Linked DNA regions of Homo sapiens: region 2 is linked to region 1. The links are contacts of gene promoters, found by promoter capture Hi-C in blood cells and fetal thymus (Javierre and others, 2016). All regions are on one chromosome and are shown on one strand. Each heading gives the region's core, a stretch centred on a gene start or on the middle of the fragment in contact. The rest is flanking DNA. Distances are from core to core; before and after follow the strand shown. Region 1 holds the start of LY6H (lymphocyte antigen 6 family member H). Region 2 has its middle 5.9 kb from the start of ZFP41.

Region 1 (5,842 bases), core at 2,503-5,002:
CCCAGCCCCCAAAACAGGAGGCACAAGCAAGAGCAGCACACTTTACTGAAGGGTGGGGTGGGGGCGGGGGCTGCATCACAGAGCAGGTGGCCTTCAATGGAAAAGCCCCTTGGCTGTGTCCAGCAGGGAATGGGCACCAATGCCCAGGACCGCAGGCCTCCTCTCTCTTCCTGGCTCACCAGCCCTGGACCCAATTCCTCGCCATCCCTCATGCAAGGCCAGCCTTTACAGGAACCACTGCTTTCCCTAAGGAGCCCAGGACCCAGCAGTGGCCATGAGATTGGGTCAGCCACAGGTGGCATGATGCAGCAGTGGCCAGAGACCAGGCCTCGGAGAAACCCTGGGGTGCCTGCCAAGCGGTGTGGTGAGCCTGGGCCGTGAGACGAGCCGCTGGTGGAGCATCTAGCGTGGTGGCCGGTGGGTGTGGGAGGCTGGGCTGGATGCGGGGGTGCAGGGCTGAAACTGGAGCAGGAAGGATCAAGACATCACTCCAACATTCCCCAGGCCAAGTCTTCCCTGCCCCCTCACCCCACGGCACCCAGTCCCTCCGGGCCAGCCCACAGAGAGGTGTGGGCTTCCTCAACCCCTGGCCACAGGGAGTGGCCTCAGGAGCCCAACTCAGGGCCAGGAGTGGCCGGAGTGGATGTCCAGTGAAGAGGCAGGGTGAGGGAACAGGAGGACTCCACTCGGCCTGAAGCAGCCCCCAGGGGCAGAGACAGCTGGGGTGGGGGCGAGAGGAGGCCAGCACGCGTGGTCTCATCTGTGAGTCTGTGAGGGCACCGTGTGCACTGCACGCTGAGTGTACAAGGGTGGGTGTGCACAGACATGGGCATGCACGTGTGGGTGTGGGCACGTGCACTGGGACACGCCAGTTTGTGCCAGTTATGTGCATGCCCCAGCACGTGTGCGCGGGGCACCTGGGGTGTGTGTGTGTGAAGGAGCAGGGCGGGCACGGGTGTGTGTGCACATGCTGGCTGCGTGGGCACCGTTTGTATGCTTGTCTGGGCATGAGTGTGTGTGCACATGCTGGCTGCGTGGGCACCACTGTTTGTGGGCGTGTCTGGTGTCTGTGGTGTGCTCACAGGATTCCGGTACCTCCCCCCAAGCCCACCCTGTGATCTTGCTCATCTCAGCTCTCACCCCATCACCCCAAGTGCTCCTAAACCTCACCAGGACCAAGCAGCCCCAGCACAACCACCCAGCACCCCAGTGCCCTGAGCCCAAGAGCCCAAGATCCTGGCTGAGCGCCCGCCCTGCCCCCAGCCCCTCCGCTCCCTCAGCACCTCATTCCCAGCTCTCTGCCAGGAACCCTTTCCCGCCCCCGACACCCAGGCTCAGACCCGGGTCTCAGGACTCAAAAGTGACTTTATTTCTCCGCAGAAGACGCCCTTCCAGCTGGGCTGTTGCTTCACTTCCCCTCCGGGACCTGGGGGTCCCCCCCCACCCTCATCCCCAGGCCTCCTGCCCAGATGGCCTGGTTTCCTGGAGATGTCCAGCTGCCTGGGACTCAGAGCTGGCGGAGAGACAGGGAGGCTTCACGTCGGGGGAGGAGTGAGAGCCACAGGCCACAGCCACGGAGCTGGGCCAAGGCTGCCCCCAGCCCCAGCCACGCCAGGCTGGGGAGAGGGCAGCCACAGGCTCAGGGGAGCAAGCTCAGAAGCCCCGTGGGAAGGAGGAGACATCAGGGCCCAGCCCAGAGGAGGGCAGGCCCCAGGCTGAGCAGGAGCCCCCCGGCCAGGGCCCAGGGGCTGTGCCCTGCCCCTGCCGCCCCATTGCACAAATCCTTCTCGCAGCAGTCCACGTCGACCTTTAAGATCCCAGAGTTAATAAACCCCATCAGATAGTCTGAGAAAAAGTGTCGCTTAACGAAGTCACAGGAGGAGGCACACATCTTGTTCACCGAGTGATCCTTCCTGCCTGGGAAGAGAAAGCGTGGCCTGGGACGGGGGCTCCTCCTGGGCCCTCTCTGCCTCATCCCGAGGACCCAGCCCAGGCCCCTCCGGGTCAGCTCGGGGCCCCAGTAGGCAGGGCCGAGTCCCTCCACCCTCCCACGCTGGCCTCAACTAGATGAAAAGGGCCACCAAGGAGCCAGGGGGGGACAGCAGGACAGTATCCTGCCTGCCGCCCCACGCTCTCACTCTCGTCCCAGGCCAGAGGGGCTCCGAGGACACCTCTGACCTCTCTCAAGAGCCTGGCTTTTAGCACATTCCCCACCACCCTAAGTCCCAACTTACTGCTGCTGGGATCGGTGATTCGGACACTGGCACACACCGTGTCGGACGGCTGGCACTGCTTTGGGGTGCAATGGCTGGAGTTGGTGGTCAGGGTGCAGTCCTGGCACCACAGGCCATGAGCTGGGCAGGGCATGGGGAGGAGGGTGACCAGAGGCACTGGGGTCCAAACCAGGCAGCCCCCTGCGCCCCCCACCCATCCCCCTGCTGCAGGCACTCCTGGGAGAGCCCGACCCCACGGGAGGGAGCAGGCCCCCATGACCCCTGGAGGGGGAGCAGAGGCCCTGGGACAACTGTGCCCCATCCTGGCAGTTTGAGGGGAGCCCCTATGGCCCCTCCCTGGCCCCCATGCACGTGCGTGCACACACACACACAAACACACACACGGGCTATACAGACCCCACACCGACAGTGCCCCCCTCACACTCCCGCCCCGCCTCACATATCCCCCCCAGAGGTCCGTGGGTTCCAAGCTGTGAAGGACCAAACTGGATTTGAAAGGAGGCCCGGGAGGCTCTCAGAGGTGACGGATGACCAAGGGCTTCCGTGCGGGGCCAGCCGCCCACCAGTTCCAGGCCCTGGAGGAAGAGCGCTGGAGAGAGCCCAGTGCCGGGGCAGAGGGGCCGAGGGCCGGGCTGGGGTCGCAGGGGTCCCGGAGGGGGCGTGGGCTCTATGCGAAGTGCGGTGGGAACCGTCAGAGGGTGGCAGCCCCACACCCGGCTCTCCCGCGGCGCCTCGGGCTCTCCCAGGCACCTGACCCAGCCCGCGGGCCCCCTACTCACCGGGCGCCGAGCACAGCAGGACGGCCAGCAGCGCCAGGCCGAGGCCCTTCATGGCTGCAGGCAGCATGCTCCGGGTGGGCCTGGGGGCGGCGCGGGGGCTTGGGGCGCGGGTCCTCTGGGGCGCAAGCCTGGAGGGGAGAAGCATCGGTCAGGAGACCCCAAAGACCCTCTCCTTTCCCAGCCTCAGGATGCAACCTTCTCCCCGGAATCCAAGGCCGGGGTCCGCCCGGAGCTCGCAGAGCCCCACCCCCAGCCCCTTCTCCAGAGCGTCCGCCGTCACAGCATCCCCGCCGGGAGACGTCTGGCCTCTGGGGCGAGGTGACAGCTCGAGACGCCTCCGCCCCGCGCCGGCACCTGTGTGGGGGAGCGGATGGGGGGCGTCCTCTTCTCCCCGGGGAGCTGCAGGTGCGTCCGGACAGGAATGAGCGGCAGGGGCGGGAGCGGGTGGGACCTGCCACTGGGGGGAGGGGCGCGTGCCAGGTCCCCACCCCCACCCCTGGGCTGGGGGGCCGGGAACCCCGGGCCGAGTCCCCTCCCTTGGCCTTCCGCGCGCGCCTCGGCGCTCACCGCGGATGGGGCGTGGAGCGCGGGCCTCGGGGTCGGGGGGCTCACTCACATCCCGGGGGTGTCCGCACTCCGGGCTCGGGCGGCGTGCGCGGCGCGGGGAGCTGTGCCCTTCGGTCTCCCTGCGGACCGGAATCCGGGCGCAGCCTCGTCTTTCGGGGAACGCAGCCGCAGACGCGGACCCCGCGCGAGGGGCGGGGCGGAGCCGGGGCGGGGGCCGCGCGGGGGGCGGGGGCGGCTGGGAGACGCGCGGGGCGGGGGGCGCCCGGGGCTCGCGGCCCCCACGCAGGTAGCTGGCCCGGGCCCTCCGCGCCCCCTTGCTGGCGCGCGCGCTCCCTCGGGTTCCCGCTCCCTCCCTCGCGGCGCCCCCTGCTCCTCCCCAGCCTCCGCGGCCCCCTACCCAGGCGTGGGCAGGATCCCTTCCCCCTCTGCTTGGCTGAGATCCCCTTGGAATTTCTCGGAAGAACGTTTACTGCGAAAGGAAGCAAAATGCACAAAGACGCAGAGAGGGGGAGGTACCCGGCGCGGCGCCACGCGCAGGTCCGGGTTCGCAGACCCCTGGGGTCAGACTCCCGCCCTGGGGCCCCGCCCTCCCCCTCCTCCCCGCCCCTCCCCAACCTCATACCCGTTTCCCCGTTTCCCCGTTTCCAGTGGCTCCAGGCCGTTCTCCTCCCCTGAGCATCCATGAAGACCCCCACCAGAAGCCGCAGCCCCAGGGGCTTCTGTCGCCAAATACTCCCACACTCGGAGGTAAAGGTACAAATCCTGGCCAGAGCATCCGAGCCTTGGACCCGTTTCTCGGCTTCCTTGGCCTTCCCGCCCTGCCCTCCAGCTCCCTAAAAGCTGTGCCTTTGCACGTGTCCCTGTGCCTGAAATCCGCCTCCCCGGGGCACTGGGGAAGCCCCGATCTGCCATCGTGCCTTTGGTCCTGCTCCCTTTCATTTGACCTGAAAATGTTTACTGCATGCTCCCTGCTGCCCTAGCCCTGCCCTGAGCCCTGGGAAAGGGCATGAGGAGAGAGACCTGGTTTCTGCCCTCCTGACTCTCCCCTTGGACAAATGGTGATGCCTACTGCAGCATATCTTTGCAGGATGTGACAGAGCTAACATTTATTGAGCATGTACTATGGATTCCACCTGTTCTAGACACTTCATATTTATTATCTCCTTATAGTCTCACCACAGCCCTGCTGTGCAGATAGTATCATTTCCATCTCACAGATGAGGAGACTCACACGGAAAGGCGGCGCTCCCTGCTCGGGGTCACACAGTGACGCAGGTGACAGGTGACCCAGCTGAAGTGGGAACCCAAGCAGCTTGGGCTACAGGGACTGCACACCTCCGCTCCATTGTGGCTCCAGAGGGGTGGAGGCAAGGACGAGATGGACAAGAGACCACCACAGGAGCGTGCTTTGCCTCAGGGTCAGGGAGAGCTTCTCCCAGGACCTGATACTTTAGCCGAGAACTGAATGAGGAGTTGAGATTCATAAGGTGCAGAGGGCAAGAGCTAGATCAAGGTTCAAACACAATTCTTTTCAAAACATACAGAGCTCGCAAGAAAGTAAAAGAAATCTGAGTCCATAAAGAAAGAAGTAAATAGAATAATGGACTCCCAAAGTCTGCCCACTGAGCAGGAGGCAGATGTGAAACTCACAGTGGTCCTGGGCAGACCTGGACCCCCACGGGGTCTGAGGTCCCGGAAGCAGAGCCTGAGGCAGGGATTCCAGAGCAAGCCCTTTGGTTGGAGGTGGGGATAGCAGCCCTGGGGAGTGGGGAAGTGGTCCAGGGTGGGGAAGGAGGCTGGCAAGCATGTGGTACTCAGCAACCCCCCGCAGTGGGGAAATGGAGCCTGACCCCAGAGAGGTACTCTGGGAAGTGGTGTAAACTGTGAGCCTCAGGTGAACTCACCCAAGGGATGAGGGAACAGGTATTTCACAGCGACACCCAAGAGTCATTGATTGAGGGCTGCCCCGAGGGATGCTTTCTCCTGCACCCTCCACTTGGCACCCACACAGAGCCCTCCGGGGAGCCAGGGTGGTCCCAGGTCAGTAGCATCCCTGCTTGCAAAAGCAAAACCAACGATGAATACTCTGGAGAAAGCAAGCCCCAACTTAGGGACTGAGGTTCCCACAGATTTAACTGAATCAAATATGAGTTCAAAATGAAAAATCAGCACATGTCTAAAGAAAGCAAGCCTCCAAGTGAGACTCAGCTGACAGTGACGAGCAACAGATTTAAATCACCACAAACTTTCTAAATGGAAAAT
Region 2 (5,842 bases), core at 1,580-4,079, 81 kb after region 1:
GAAAGAAAAAAGAAACCTTGCAATGATCCTGAGAAAGGACTTTTAAATGTAGCGTGGAAGAGCTGGACAAACTGCAGCCTTTTGGTATGTCCATGTAAGTTCTAGAATTAGCTCAGAGAGTGGGTTTATGCTGGAAGGGAGCTTCCTCTACTGCCCAGCCTGTGCCACCCTGGATAAGTTACCTCTGAGTGAGTCCGTTAGTGGGTGAACATGGGAAAGATTACGTAATTGGAGAATAAATGGATTTACCACCAATGTCTTGTCATAGATTATAAGCCCGAGGGGCGGGTGTTAATTTTTCCAATTAAATTGGTGTGACATATAATTAAGGAATGTGCTCACAGGTAAGGAGCTGGGGTTTCATGGAAGAATGATTCTGCTTAGTGGCCTGACATTTTTGTGTCTCTTGCTTGCTCTGCATGCAAAAGCCTCACCGGTTCACTTGTTCACGCGGTCTCCTCGCCTGTGCTCCAAAACAGAGATTCTGGACCCCGGCCACACACAAGAATCATCTGGGGGTGATTTTTCAAAACGCTGATGCTAGATGCCAGCCCCTCTGCCCCTACCCCAGCTACAGTGGGATCTCTTAGAGGTGGGGGACTGGTCAGCATTTCTCCAAGCTCTTAGGAGTTTCAAATGAACAGCCCGAGCTGTGCCCCACTGCACCAGGGAGCTTGTGCCATCTGCTGCCACTCAGGCCCTGCCTGATCATCAGAGTCACTGGGAAGCTTCTAAAATTACAGGTTATGAGGCTTAACCCCAATGGCATTCTGTTTGACCAGCTCTTGGATGATGTCTGGAAATCCCTTTTTTTTTTTTTTTTTTTCTTAAAAAGATTCCAAACTGATTCTGATTATGAGCAGGTTTAGGAACCAATGCCATAAAGGGCGTGAAAACCAAGGTAGCAGCTGTCCCGCCAGGCAGGGAAGACCTGGGCACTCCCTAGGCCCTGCCATGCCCCACACCATCCTGGGCATCCTCCATCTTCACACCATTTGGTCTTCATTGAAGATCCCATGAGATCCTGTTCCTACCCCGTCATGCAGGAGGGACCGCTGAGGGCATCTGAACATTGTGCAGGAGGGAACGCTGAGGGCATCTGAACATTGTGCAGGAGGGAACACTGAGGGCATCTGAACATCGTGCGGGTGGGAACGCTGAGGGCATCTGAAGTTGAGGAGCTTGCCCACATCAGCAGTGGGGTGCAGGGGTTGGAATCCAGACCCAGACCCGCCTGCCTTGGCTCCATCCCACCTGCTGTCCGAGACTCTGGGCGCCTGCCTGTGGATCCAGGCTCCAGCACACCGCTCAGCAGGCCCCACAGTCCTGGGAGGTCCAAGCCCTGGAACAAAGCAAAGCGCAGGCCTGCGTCTACACACCTGTCTCTGTGGGCTCTGTTCCTCTGATGCAACCCTGACGGATCCATTAGTATGACTGGAATGTCCTTGGGATCAAAACTCACTTTTTTTTCTTCTTTAGACAGAGTCTTGCTCTATCGCCCAGGCTGGAGTACAGTGGCACATTCTCAGCTCACTGCAACCTCGGCCTCCTGGGTTCAAGCGATTCTCCTGCCTCAGCCTCCCAAGTAGCTGGGATTAGAGGTGCCCGCCACCATGTCCGGCTAATTTTTTTTGTATTTTTAGTAGAGACGGGGTTTCGCCGTGTTGGTCAGGCTGGTCTCAAACTCCTGACCTCATCATCCACCTGCCTTGGCCTCCCAAAGTGCTGGGATTACAGGCGTGAGCCACCGCGCCCGACCGGAATCAAAACTTTCTAACTTCTAAAAGTTAGATTCTGGCTTCTAAAAGTGTGGCGCTGTTTTAGGATGGTTTTAGGATGGCTCAGTCCATCCAGTGGGAAGATTCTTTAAGCCCCTTGAACGTTTGGGCTGGAGAGAGAGTGAAATGAGGGCAGAGGTGCTGATTGGCCCCACACCAGTCACTGACAATGGCAGCTCCCGAGACGGCCATGGGTGCAGCCAGTGGGCACATTGCCCCCATTTTAAAATAACTTATAAATTACAAGCCAAGTTTAGCAAGTGGGTACTGCACTAAGGGCTTTGTGAGGACTTTTCACGTAGCCTTCACAATGACCCCACAGGGCAGGTGCTATCATCTTGCCCCATTTGACAGGAAATCTACTGACCATCCCAAGGCACACAGCCAGCAGTGGTGCTGATGTCCAGGCCCAGTGCTTTGACACTGTCGAGTTTCTTAAACCCTCTGAGCCTTCATTGTTTTATCTGCAAAGTGGAGACACCACCAGCAGTGAGTCAAGCACGAAACTAGGTGATTGATGCCTGTGCCCAGGATGCCGGGAGGATCTCAGCCACAGCTGTTGCCTGTGCCAGCCGCTGCGGAGAAGGATGCCACAGGCACAGGGCACCAGGGCGATGGGCTCTCCAGGGGCAGTGTCAGTGGCTCAGTCACCCACTGAGGCTGGTATCCCAGGCTCAATGCCCACAGGGGTTCCAGTGCAAGTCCTGGGCCCCAGGAGGACCCGCACCCCAGGGCTCATCAGTCAGCCAGTCAATCAGTCCACAGGCACTAGCTGAGCGCCCGCTGTCTGTGAAGCACCCTGGTGGAGCTGACGCTCTTATCCTTGGGCAGTAAAGAAGCGAACACTGCGGTTCAGGAGTTCAGCACAGCAGTCCTGGGGTCACTGCTAAGGTTCTCGTAGCCGCATTAAAAAGGGAAAAAGAAGCAAACGCAGGCCAGGCGCGGTGGCTCACGCCTGTAATCCCAGCACTTTGGGAGGCCGAGGTGGGTGGATCACCTGAGATTGGGAGTTCAAGACCAGCCTGACCAACATGGAGAAACCCCGTCTCTACTAAAAACACAAAATTATCTGGATGTGGTGGTGCGTGCCCGTAATCACAGCTACTTGGGAGGCTGAAGCAGGAGAATCTTTTGAACCCGGGAGGCGGAGGTTGCGGTGAGCCGAGATTGCACCACTGGACTCCAGCCTGGCGGACAAGAGCGAAAATCTGTCTCAAAAAAAAAAAAAGAAAAGAAAAGAAAACACAAAATCCCAGTGAGCTCTCTCTCCAGTGTCCTGCACAGACCTTCACAAAGTAAGGGCCACCCAGGAAAACTGCACAGAAGAGAGAAAAGGAACTGGCTGTGGGCCTGAGGTTGCTCTCAAAACATTTTCCAGAAAAAGAAAGTCCATCTGAGTGCCAAAATACAGAAAAGTGTCTACATTTTGGAAAGAAATTTAAAATGACTATGGAACAGGTGCAGCGGCTCACGACTGTAATCCCAACACTCTGGGAAGCTGAGGTGGGAGGACTGCTGGAGCCCAGGAGTTTTAGACCAGCTGAGGCAACAGAGTGAGACTTGGTAGCCAAAATAGTAAAAGACTGTGGGACACAGGAGGATAGTCTTGGGAAGGTAACGCAGGAGAGAAGAGGGTTAAAAGTTAGGGAGGAGTAGTCGGGTGCAGTGGCTCACCCCTGTAATCCCAGCAATTTGGAAGGCCAAGGTGGGTGGATCACCTGAGGTCACGAGTTCAAGACCAGCCTGGCCAACATGGTGAAAACCTGTCTCTACTAAAAATACAAAAAATTAGCTGGGCGTGGTAGTGGGTGCCTGTAATCCGAGCTACTCGGCAGGCTGAGGCAGGTGAATCACTTGAACCCAGGAGGCGGAGGTTGCAGTGAGCCCAGATTGTGCCATTGCACTCCAGCCTGGGCAACAAGAGTGAAACTCCGTCTCAAAAAAAAAAAAAGTTAGGGAGGTGCAGCCTTTGAAAGTCAGGTACTAAAGAGAAAAAGAAGCAAGAAGGGGAAATTAAGATGCTGAAAGACAAAAGACCTTTTTAAAAAGTCAAACATCGACCAGGCACAGTGGCTCACACCTGTAACCCAAGCACTTTGGGAGGCAGGGGCAGGCAGATCACGAGGTCAGGAGATCAAGACCATCCTGGCCAACATGGTGAAACCCCATCTCTACAAAAAATACAGAAATTAGCCGGGCACAGTAGTGCACGCCTGTAGTCCCAGCTACTTGGGAGGCTGAGGCAGGAGAATTCCTTGAACCCTGGAGGTGGAGACTACAGTGAGCCGAGATCACGCTGCTGCAGTCCAGACTGGGCGACAGAGCAAGACTCCATCTCAAAAAAAAGAAAAAAAAAATCAAACCTCACAGCACCCTTCTCCACTGACTCCCCTCACCCCCTGCAAAAAATAAATAAATAATAGAGAAATAAATAAAATAACAGGCACTAAGTAAAGAAACCATACCTTGTTACCCTGACATGAAAGGTCCCTCTTGGACTAAGAATCTCATAAAATAACTGAAACTTCTGTCCACAGACATGCTAAGGGGTAACTTCATCTATTTAAAACCACTATAAAAAGAAAGGGGAAAATGAAAAGATGATTTAGCTTATGAAAATTCCCAAAATAATGCCAGGTGTGGTGGCTCACACCTGTAATCCCAGCAGTTTGGGAGGCCGAGACAGGCGGATCATCTGCGGTCAGGAGTTCAAGACCAGCCTGACCAACATGGAGAAACCCTGTATCTACTAAAAATACAAAATTGGCCGGGTGTGGTGGCACATGCCTGTAATCCCAGCTACTTGGGAAGCTGAAGCAGGAGAATCACTTGAACCCGGGAGGCAGAGGCCGCAGTGAGCCAAAATCACACCATTGCATTCCAGCCTGGGCAACAAAAACGGAACTCCATCTCAAAAAAAAAAAAAAAAAGAAAAAGAAAATTCCCAACCCACCGACCCTGTGGGGCTGGACCCTACATAATATACTGCAAAAATCAGGGCTTCCAGGCAGAAACATCAAATAACTTTCAGGAGCATGAGAATTAGATGGGCCTGAAACTCCTCAAAATCAATAAAAATGAACATAGCAACAACGAAGCAGCATTTTCAAAAATCTCAAGAAAAGGGAGAAAACAACGAACTGTGCAGCCATTCAAGCTTTCCTTCAAGGAATTACAGCTTCAAGAGAGCAGTTTTAAACTTGCCAGAGCTCAGGGGTCCTGCAACTATAGGCCCATCAGGAGGAACCTCCTAGATGGGCTTCCTCCAACCACAAGCTGCTTACGGGTCAGCCGTAAGACCCACGGGGGTGATACATTGAATGGTAGACCCAACATAGAAAGAGAAGTGCAGTCGAGAGGGGAAGAACCATATGTGCTGTGTGTGTTCTGACAAAGTTGAAATGGCATGACTTCAAAAAAAACACCAGGAAGAGGAGGAGGAGTGGGAGGAGGAGAAGGGGGGGAGGAGGAGGGGGAGGGGGAGGGGGATGAGGGGGAGGGGAGGAGGGGGAGGGGGAGGAAGAAAAGGGAAAAGCTCCCGGGTGGTTGTGCAGGCAGTAGGGAAAAGTGAAAGGGCACCATTCAATCCAACAGGCCAGACAGTAAACCACTCAGGAGGAAAGCAGTTCTCTGTCCCTCTCTAAGCTAAGAGACCGAAGTGTTTGTCTCCTGTCCTCAGTCCTCTTCTCTGGTGGCTGTCCCCTGCAGAGCAGACTGGGACCCCACTCACTAGCAATAGGACTCCCACATCGGAACATAGGACTGTGACCCAGAGGTGCCCAGGCAGCCATGAGAGGCAGCCCGCCACCCAGAACAAGAGGCCTGGGCTTCCGGGCAGCTCCAGCCTTTGCAGCACGCAGGCAGGGCACAAAACAGGGATGTGCGAGAGAAATGAGGAGCAGAGACATGGCAGAGCCTGGGGCCCCCAGCCCCTCTTCAGAGAGGCTGCCTCTGTGGGAAGCTCTGCAGGAAAGGGGTCCTCAGCCCTTGGAGCTTCTTTCCATATTTACAGGGTAGCTGGAGCGGGGGGGTCTGGTGACAATGGGAGATTCCGGGCCAGGGAA

What was found. The method cuts DNA at HindIII sites, captures the fragments that hold promoters and counts their contacts. A CHiCAGO score of 5 or more calls a contact.
Region 2: a contact is called between a fragment that was not itself captured here and the fragment with the promoter of LY6H in region 1, in 6 of 17 cell types (endothelial precursors, naive CD4 T cells, non-activated CD4 T cells and 3 more). The highest score is 9.1, in endothelial precursors.

Annotation. Positions count from the first base shown.
Region 1 is chr8:143,156,569-143,162,410 of GRCh38, forward strand. It overlaps LY6H (lymphocyte antigen 6 family member H), which reads right to left and starts at 3,753. Exons shown (of 4, transcript NM_001135655.2): 1 at 3,630-3,753; 2 at 3,014-3,141; 3 at 2,235-2,354; 4 at 1,348-1,917. The coding sequence starts at 3,631. The coding sequence ends at 1,682. LOC124902035 (a long non-coding RNA gene) reads left to right here and starts at 3,301. Exons shown (of 2, transcript XR_007061136.1): 1 at 3,301-3,418; 2 at 4,229-5,842. The HindIII fragment of the contact is 16,430 bases long and covers 1-5,842 here.
Region 2 is chr8:143,238,125-143,243,966 of GRCh38, forward strand. No RefSeq gene overlaps it. Among named protein-coding and RNA genes, the nearest start is that of ZFP41, 5.9 kb to the right of the region's middle. The HindIII fragment of the contact is 4,207 bases long and covers 727-4,933 here.